Linked DNA regions of Homo sapiens: region 2 is linked to region 1. The links are contacts of gene promoters, found by promoter capture Hi-C in blood cells and fetal thymus (Javierre and others, 2016). All regions are on one chromosome and are shown on one strand. The core of a region is centred on a gene start or on the middle of the fragment in contact, and the rest is flanking DNA. Distances in the headings are between cores, read along the strand shown.

What was found. Contacts are between HindIII fragments. The CHiCAGO score rates a contact against its expected background, and 5 or more counts as called.
Region 2: a contact is called between a fragment that was not itself captured here and the fragment with the promoter of KCND1 in region 1, in 3 of 17 cell types (activated CD4 T cells, non-activated CD4 T cells and naive CD8 T cells). The highest score is 7.5, in activated CD4 T cells.

What each region holds. Positions count from the first base shown.
Region 1 is chrX:48,969,884-48,974,665 of GRCh38, reverse strand. It overlaps KCND1 (potassium voltage-gated channel subfamily D member 1), which reads left to right and starts at 2,822. Exons shown (of 6, transcript NM_004979.6): 1 at 2,822-4,782. The coding sequence starts at 4,395. GRIPAP1 (GRIP1 associated protein 1) reads left to right here. Exons shown (of 26, transcript NM_020137.5): 26 at 381-943. The coding sequence ends at 473. The HindIII fragment of the contact is 6,364 bases long and covers 2,375-4,782 here.
Region 2 is chrX:48,648,039-48,652,820 of GRCh38, reverse strand. The region is part of intron 1 of LOC124905186 (a long non-coding RNA gene); the gene reads right to left. Among named protein-coding and RNA genes, the nearest start is that of WAS, 33 kb to the left of the region's middle. RefSeq lists an enhancer at 3,755-4,417. The HindIII fragment of the contact is 7,789 bases long and covers 1-4,782 here.

The DNA.
Region 1 (4,782 bases), core at 1,573-4,072:
TGCCCAAACTGCCACCCAAGGACTTTCCCCATCTCTGAGAGTTAGAAAGGGGTCAGACCCAGCTCCTGCCTTTGAGAAGCAAGCTCACACTTAGAAGAGCAGGTGGCCAGAGTGGTGGTGTATCCTGCAGCAGCACCATGCCACAGGAGGCATCCCACTCCCATTATCTGTAGCTCCCCACCCATCCTCATGACTTTTCTGAGCCCTGCCCACTGTTGGGGGTGCTGTGAGCTTCTCCAAGTACCTTCTCATCCCAGGCCAGACACAGCTGAGCATTGATTAATGAAAGGGTGTGAGGGAAATCACAGATGATACCCTACGTTTGGCAAGGGAGCAGCCTGTCCCCTTCTCTGGCCCCTGATGGTTCATTTGTTTCTTAGGATATGGAAGTTCTGTCCCAGGAAATTGTGCGGCTCAGCAAGGAGTGCGTGGGGCCTCCTGACCCAGACCTAGAGCCAGGAGAAACCAGCTAAAGACCTGCAGGCTGCACCCACCTCCTCCCCTTCCTACCCCCTAGGATGCTATTCCCTTGGGCTGTGGTGGAAAAATGAGGGCTGGAGCCAAAATCAAATAGCTTGGGAGACTGGACATTAAAGGGGCTAGAGGCCTGATGGTTAGTGTTAATGATCCTGTCTTAGGGCAGAGGCCACCAGGGAGTGGGGATCCTGAGGGAAGGGGCAGGGATTTCTCCTTCTTCTTGGTCCTGGCTCCCAAGGGCTTCTGTCTTCATCTCTGCATGAGCTCTCCTTCCCAGAGACCAACTCTTTTTATTTTATTTTATTTTATTTTTTAATTTATGTCTGGAGCCTGGCTACTCTGCATTTGGGATTGGGGATGCTGGGTGGGTGTGTGGTCCATGTTCAGCGTTCTAGCAACACGTGTGTGTGTGTGTGTGTAAAGGCTATGCAGCCAAAATACCATCTGGCCAGACGGGCCCACCCACTGACTGTCTCGTCTCGTTCTTTTCAACCAGGAGGAATATGCTGGGGGCGGGGAGGTTTACACCATTGGAATAGGGAGAGAGGTCTCTGGCTGCAACGTTACTCTCTTTTCCCCACCCTCATCCAGCCTGTCTCCATTTACTGCTGACCAGCCCCTCAAACTGAGTGGAGCTGAAATACCTGCAGATATGTACATGGGTAGACATGTATGGGATTGTGGGTATAGATGAGTAGACAGATGGGAGGATGGATAAGTGGTTGGATGGACCGATGGATGTATAAGTGAACGGTTGCATGGACTGATGATGGATAGATTGGGAAATAAATGGATGGATGGATAGGTGGTTAGATGAATAAATGGGTAGATAGATTGGTAGGTGGATAGAGGATGGATAGTAGAGATGTAAATGGACAGATGGATAATAGGTCTATGGACAAATGGGTGGATGATTTAGGTAGACAGGTGGATGGATGGGTTTATGGACAGGTTAGGAGTAAATGGACCAATGGTTGGGGGAATGGATGGATGGGTAGATGAGCTAATGAATGGGAAGGGTAAAGAGTGGGAGAAGAAATGACAAGTGGAGCTATGTATGGACAGAGATGGGCAGAGGATGTCACCCTGCATGTGTTCCGGGTGGGAAGAGATGGGCAGAGGATGGATACATACAGATAGATTGGCAAACAGCCAAATGGGGTGAACTTACAAATGGATGAATGAGTGGGTGGGTAGATTAACGACTAAGTGGACGGGTGGGTGGAGGGATGGATAGAGGAATTGATTGTGTGGGTGGGAGAATGGGTGGATGGGTAGGTGGAGGAATGGATGTAGAAATGGACAAATCAGGAGTGTGCCAAATGGGCAATTGGAAGTTTACACGGGTGGGTAAATCTTGGGTGAAAGGCTAGGCCTGGCCCTGCATTACAGTGCCCCTGTCATCACACTCCTTTAATTAAGATTAAGCATCCCTGGTGTGAGCTGTGTCCAGTGCTATCACCTTTCACATCATGTAATGCTCCAAATGACGCTATCAAGTTGGGATAAGTCTCTCCATCTGACAACTGAGGAAACAATGCAAGTCACTTGCTCAAGGATGCAGCAAGTCAGTGGCAAAGCTGGGGTTTGAACCCACCCATAGCCAGCCAGAGGCATTCCATAATCAGTGCTCCTGCCATCCAGAAGCAGAGCCCTCTAGCGGAGGAGGTGTGATTTGAGGCCACTGGATATGGACAGATAAGAGAGACTACCCCCTCGGAGTGGGGCCTGCCTGAGATGGTAGGGGGGTGGGACCTGGATTGTCCCCCTCTACATTCCCTTTACCCTCATTTCATATCTAAAAACAGGAAGTCCCGTGCTCCAATCCCACAGCCGAAGTCTTAGAGCTGGGGCTGTAACCCATGCTGCGCCCCTCAAGGGGGCGGCTTCGGAAGCTTGGCCATCTAGAGAAACACTCCCCAGCAATTACCCCCGACTCCTGGCTCTCCTGCCTTTCCACAGTCTGGGGGGCAGGGAGGGGACAGCGCTGCATCATTCCCTGTGGCACTCCGCTCTGGGGCCATTAACAGACGCCTTCCCATCGATCGGATCTGCTAAGTGCTGCTGATTCAGGCGAGTGGGGGTGGGGGCCCCTGGGGGCAGAGCGGGTAGGAGCTGGGCAGGAAGAGAGGGGAGTCCAGGAAGGAGGTGGAGAGAATTGGCGAAGTTCCCTGCCACCCCCATTTTCCAGATGACGCGACTGAGGCCCAACCAGCTTTGTAGGAGGCGGAGTCTCCCCAGGGTCCCTCTCTGGCTGTCCTAGGGGAGGGGGCTCAGGGAGCCACGAGGCCCCTCCCTGCCTCTCCATCTCCCGGCAAGCTCAGAGGGGCGGGGAGAGAGAGCCAGAGGAGGAGGAGAACTCAGGCAGCTCTGCAGAGGGGGCCAGGAGCTCGGGTGTTTGGTACCCCCAGCCCCACCGCTGTTGCTGCTCCTGCAGCGGGGACACAGGTGAGGACGCCCCGAGAGAGAGGGGGAGGGGGACCACCACTAGCGCTGTCCTCATCCTTCCCTGGTCCAGCCCCCACGCCCTAACCCATCCTGGGATAGTCCCCAGGGGTCCCACTGGACCTTGCCCTTCCCAGGCCTCCTTCCAGGGACCCCGCACCCTCCCCCTGCCTATGCCACCTTCTCTCCTATGCCTGGCTGTGGTTGCTTCTCTTCCTCCTGCTGCCGCTGCTGCTACTGCCACTGCCCAGTACACACCGCCAGCCCCTCGGGGTGTGGTTTCCCCAGACCTGCCCCCAACGGTGGGACCCAGCCTTCTCCCGGCGTCTCCTGCCAGCTTCCTGCAAAGCCCAGGAGCCCCCCTCCCTGGAGACACACCCAACTCCCTTTCAACACCCCACCCCCCTCTTAATCCCATTTTGGGGTTAACCCCCTTCCTCTTATTTAGTCTTCATAGATCCCCTGGGTGCTCTGGGATTGTGCCCAACTTCCTAACATTTGAGTCCCGGCCCTTGGAATTCCCCAGGCCCCTTTTTCCTCCCTGTAGAACTCCTGAGAGTGTCGACCAGGCTTTGTTGGCCCGTCTAGATACCCACCTCCCCCAGATAACTCTCAGCCTCTCAAAAAATAACCCAGCCCCCTGTCTACCCCTTTAGATAACCCCTTCCCCTCTCCAGCCCTACTAGGAGGCTCTGGCCTCTCCTTTCTTCCCCAGAACTCCTGTAGAGTATAGACACCCCCCCGGGCTATTCTTGGCAACTCTAGGCAGTCCCAAGACACCTTTCAGCCTCTTTACAACCTCCTGGATCCACAGCCACCCCTCAAGATGCACCAGCTCCCTTTCCAGATCCATGAGGGGGGTCTAACCCTCTTATGCTTCCCCTAGAAGTCTTGAGGGTGTGGACAACCCTCCTCACCTGTCTCAGCCCCTCTAGAACCCCCACTTCCAGGCACTCTCAGTCTCTTTCAAGCACCTCTGGTCCCATTTCTACCCCTCTGGATGCCCCAGTCTCCTCTCCACCACTGCAAAGGAATTCCAGGCTCTTCTGCCTTCCCTGAGACTCTTGAGAGTGCAGAGAATTCCCCACGTGTTTCTTGGCCCCTCTAGACGCCCCCAGACACCTCTCAGGCACAGGCTGACTCCTTTAGAATCATCTCAGTCTCTCTAAACCCTCCCTCAGCTCCTTCTTGGCCCCATCCCCACACCCCTTTTCTGCTCTTCTCCATGTCCCCAAGGCCCTTCTCAGTCCCTCAGAACATTGCCCAGGCCCCTCCTAGGTTCTGTAAATGTCCCCCAGACTCCTTCCCATCTCTTTAGTTCTTCCTCCTGGTTCCTCTTGGCCTCTCTAGACACCCCCAGTTTCCTTGTTTGGGTGGCTCAAGGTGTCTCCAAGCCCCCACCATCCTGGAGACAGCCACATTCTCCTAAACGCCACCCTCACTAAGTCTCCCTGGGCTTGGGGAGTGGCACGATGGCGGCAGGCCTGGCCACGTGGCTGCCTTTTGCTCGGGCAGCAGCAGTGGGCTGGCTGCCCCTGGCCCAGCAACCCCTGCCCCCGGCACCGGGGGTGAAGGCATCTCGAGGAGATGAGGTTCTGGTGGTGAACGTGAGCGGACGGCGCTTTGAGACTTGGAAGAATACGCTGGACCGCTACCCAGACACCTTGCTGGGCAGCTCGGAGAAGGAATTCTTCTACGATGCTGACTCAGGCGAGTACTTCTTCGATCGCGACCCTGACATGTTCCGCCATGTGCTGAACTTCTACCGAACGGGGCGGCTGCATTGCCCACGGCAGGAGTGCATCCAGGCCTTCGACGAAGAGCTGGCTTTCTACGGCCTGGTTCCCGAGCTAGTCGGTG
Region 2 (4,782 bases), core at 1,017-3,516, 320 kb after region 1:
TAGCCCTGGGAGGGACAGTCTCTCCAAGATTAGCAAGGCCCCAAGATGTCAAAGCATCATGAAATACAGAAAATTAAAAAACACGATTAATGTGCATATCCATCCCCAGCCCTGATAACTGTAACACCTTCATAACAAAAGTGGAAACCTGGGCCGGGCGTGGTAGCTCACGCCTGTAATCCCAGCACTTTGGGAGTCCCAGGCAGGCTGATCACCTTAGGTCAGGAGTTCGAGACCATCCTGGCCAACATGGTGAAACCCCATCTCTACTAAAAAAAAAAAAAAAATTAGCTGGGCCTGGTGGTGCATGCCTGTAATTCCAGCTACTCAGGAGGCTGAGGCAGGAGAATCGTTTGAACCCAGGAGGCAGAGATTGCAGTGAGCCGAGATCACGCCATTGCACTCCAGCCTGGATGACAGAGCAAGACTCTTATCTCAAAAAACAAAACAAAACCAAGTGGAAGCCTGAAACAGATGAATAAAGTGATTTGTACAAAGTGAGGCAGCCAGTTAGTGTCAGAGACCTCTAAGTGTCTCAACTCAGTCCATCTCTTTGTCACTTTTTCCATAGCAAGCTAGCTCCTTCTCCTGCTCCATCTCACTAATTGCTAGTAGATCAATTTTCTTAGGTTGGTATGTCATTCTGTGCATAATGCACAGAAATCGCCTTGCAAAAGCCAAAGTAGCTTTGATGTGACTTCTAAAACGAAACTGCTGCTGCTCAGTGGAGAATGATCTTAAAAGGCTGCCAAGGCATGCCCTTCATGTCAGAAATGTCTACCATTGCTTTTCATGCATGTCTCTGCCACTGTGCAAACTATATCTTTTGTTCTAATCAAATAATTTAATAATAAATATTGCAGAAACTGTTTTAAATCTCTTATACTAATTATATTAATTGACCTAATTTTCACAGCAACCCTATGAGTACGGGTTTATCTCCATCTTGTTTTATTTAATTTGGAGACAGAGTCTCACTCTCTCGCCCAGGCTGGAGTGCAATGGCACGATCTCCACTCACTGCAGCCTCCTCCTCCTGGGCCCAAGCGATCTTCCCACCTCAGTCCCCCAAGTAGCTGAGACTACAGGTGTGCACCACCACACTCAGCTAATTTTTGTATTTTTTGTAGAGACGGGATTTTGCCGTGTTGCCCAGGCTGGTCTTGAACTCCTGACCTCAAGCAATCCACCCACCTCTGCCTCTCAGAGTGCTGGGATTACAGGCATGAGCCACCACGCCCAGCTCATATACCCATTTTAAAGATGAGGAAAGTGCAGCACAGAGACATTCAGTAACTGGCACAGCTAATAAGTGGCAGAACTGGAATTCAAATCCAAGCTAACTCCAGAGTCCCCCTCTTTACCACCACACACTGCCAACAGAAATGTTGTTCTGACTGCAAAGAAATTGCTCACTTTTTAATTTAAGAAAAAAGGATGATCAAGAGAATGAGATGATAGCCAGGTGTGGTAGTGTGCACCTGTAATCCCAGCTACTTGGAGGTTGAGGCAGGAGAATTGCTTGAACCCAGGAGGCAGAGGTTGCAGTGAGCCGAGATTGCACCACTGCACTCCAGCCTGGGTGACAGAGTGAGACTCCGTTCCCCCCTCCCCACAAACGTGAATGAAATGACAAGCCACAATATTTGCAAAAGAGGTGTCTGATAAATGACTATTATCCAAAATTGCAAAGAGCTCTTAAAACTCAACGGTAAGAAAATGAACAACCTGATTAAAAAATGGGCAAAAGACCTGAATAGACACCTCACCAAAGAAGGTGGACAGATGGCAAATAAGCATATGAAGATGCCCAACATCATATGTCATTAGAGACTTGCAAATTAAAACAACAGTTAGGCTGGGCGCAGTGGCTCATGCCTGTCATCCCAGCACTTTGGGAGACCAAGGCGGGCGGATCACCTGAGGTCAGGAGTTCAAGACCAGCCTGACCAACATGGAGAAACCCCGTCTCTACTAAAAATACAAAATTAGCTGGGCGTGGTGGCACATGCCTGTAATCCCAGCTACTAGGGAGGCTGAGGCAGGAGAATTGCTTGAACCTGGGAGGCGGAAGTTGCGGTGAGTCAAGATCGCGCCATTGCACTCCAGCCTGGGCAACGAGAGTGAAACCCTGTCTCAAAATTAAAAAAATAAAAAATAAAATAAAACAACAGTGAGATGCCACTACACACCTATTAGAATGGTGAAAACAACACACTGACAACACCAAATGCTGTCGAGGATGTGGAGCAACAGAAACTCTCATTCATGAGAATGCAAAATGGCACAGCCACTTTGGAAGACAGTTTGGCGGCTTCTTACAAAACTAAACATACTCTTACTATACCATCCAGTAATTGCATTCCTTGATATTTACCCAAATGACTTGAAAACTTATGTCCCCACGTAAATCTACACACAGGAATGTTTATAGCAGCTTTATTCATAATTGCAAAAACATGGAAGCAACCAAAATGTCCTTTGGTAGGTGAGTGGATAAATAAACTGGTACATCCAGATAGTGGAATATTATGCAGTGAGAAAAAGAACTGAGCTACCAAGCCATAAAAAGACATGGAAGAGGCCAGGCGCGGTGGCTCATGCCTGTAATCCTAGCACTTTGGGAAGCGGAGGCAGGTGGATCACTTGAGGTCAGGAGTTTGAGACCAGCCTGGCCAACATGGTGAAACCCCATCTCTACTAAAAATGAGCTGGGCGTGGTGGCACACGCCTGTAATCCCAGCTACTCAGGAAGCTGAGGCAGGAGAATCACTTGAACCCGGGAGGCGGAGGTTGCAGAGAGCCGAGATCGCGCCACTGCACTCCAGCCTGGGTGACAGAGCGAGACTCTGTCTCAGAAAAAAAAAAAAAAATGGAGGAAACTTAAATGCATATTACTAAGTGATAGGTTTGGCTGTGTCCCCACCCAAATCTCATCTTGAATTATAGCTCCCATAATTCCCACGCGTTGTGGGAGAGACCCAGTGGGAGATAACTGAATCATGGGGGGCAGTTTCCCTCATATTGTTCTCATGGTAGTGAATAAGTCTCACAAAATCTGATGGTTTCATAAGGGGAAAACCCTTTTGCTTGGTCCACATTCTCTTTTATCTGCCACCATGTAAAACATGCCTTTTACCTTCCACCATTATTGTGAGGCCTCCCCAGCCACGTGGAACTGTGACTCCGTTAAACCTCTTTATAAATTACCCAGTCTTGGGTATGTCTTTATAAGCAGCATGAGAACAGACTGATATACTAAGTGAAAGAAGCCAATCTGAAAAGGCTACATACTGTATGATTCCAACTATATGACATTCCGGAAAAGGCAAAACTAAGGAGGCAGTAAAAAGATTAGTGGTTTACAGGAGTTGAGGGGAAGGAGAGATGAATAAGTGGAGCACAGAGGATTTTTAGGGCAGTGAAACTACTCTGCATGATACTGCAATGATGGATATGTGTCCTTGTATCTTTGTCAAAACCCATAAAATATACAACACGAGTGAGTCATAATGTAAACTATGGACTTTGGGTGATGATGATGCGTCAATTGCAGGTTCATCAATTGCAACAACTGTACAGCTCTGGTTAGGGGTGGTGATAGTGACAGAGGTTGTGGGTGTGTAGGGGCAGGAGTTATCTGGGAAATTTCTGCACTTTCTGCTCAATTTTGCCATGAACCTAAAACTGCTCTAAAAAATAAAGTCTTAAAAAAAGATGAAATTTTAAAACAATGATTCCAAAGTCATTTTGGGCATGTTGGCATCCTGAGATTATAAACAAGATTATGATTATAAACGAGGTCATGGTTATGATCAGAGGAAACTATGTGCTTTGTAGCAAACTGTTTCCTTGAAAAATTTCTGAACTGTACATTTGTAAGCATCAAGCTGAATGGATACAGTATGAAAACACTGTCCACCAGCTCTTTCCAAATGTAGAGCAGTTAATGGGTAAAAAGGAAGCCACTACTCTTTGTCTTCATCCATTTCCGAGAGAGAAGAGCAATACTTAAATTGTCTTTGATGCTATTTGTTTGACACCATTAATTCTTGTCATGCAATGTTTTTCTCTTTCATTTCTCAGCATGGGAAAAAAGGTGGAACAAAGAGAACCCCAGGCCTGGCCCTGTGAGTCTTCTTGGCCTTCTGTTAAATCACTGGCTTTCTAATTGGGCGACAGCTGGGGAGGATCCCTGCTGCTCCCCAGGGTTTCCTGAGGCCGCACGCAGCCTTTCCCCCCAACCTTGTAAGGGAGAGGAAATGGCATGGATCTGTCCAAGCTCTCTAACCAGAAACTGCATCTGTTAGCTCATGTCAGAGTGACCTAAAAGTTGCCTCTTGGCAACGCTTGGGCGATAGAAGAGACTCCTGCTGCCACCCTCAGGGTAAAATGAATAACTGAATTAGATACTTGAAATCAGAAGGGAAAACATATCGGGATCTTGTTGACAATTCATCCCTTCTATCCATTCCTTTATTTTATTTTTATTTTTAATCTTTTTATTTATTAATTTTGTACTTGGTTTAGCTCATGATTTCATTATTTTATTTTTTGGGGGACAGGCTTTCATTCTGTCACCCAGGCTGGAGTGCAGTGGCATGATCTCAGCTCACTGCAGCCTCGACCTCCTTGGCTCAGGCAATCCTCCCACCTCAGCCTCCTAAGTAGCTGGGACCACAGGCATGAGCCACCACGCCCAGATAATTTTTTTTATTTTTGGTAGTGACGAGGTCTCCCTATGTTGCCCAGCGTGGTCTTGAACTCCTGGAATCAGGCGAT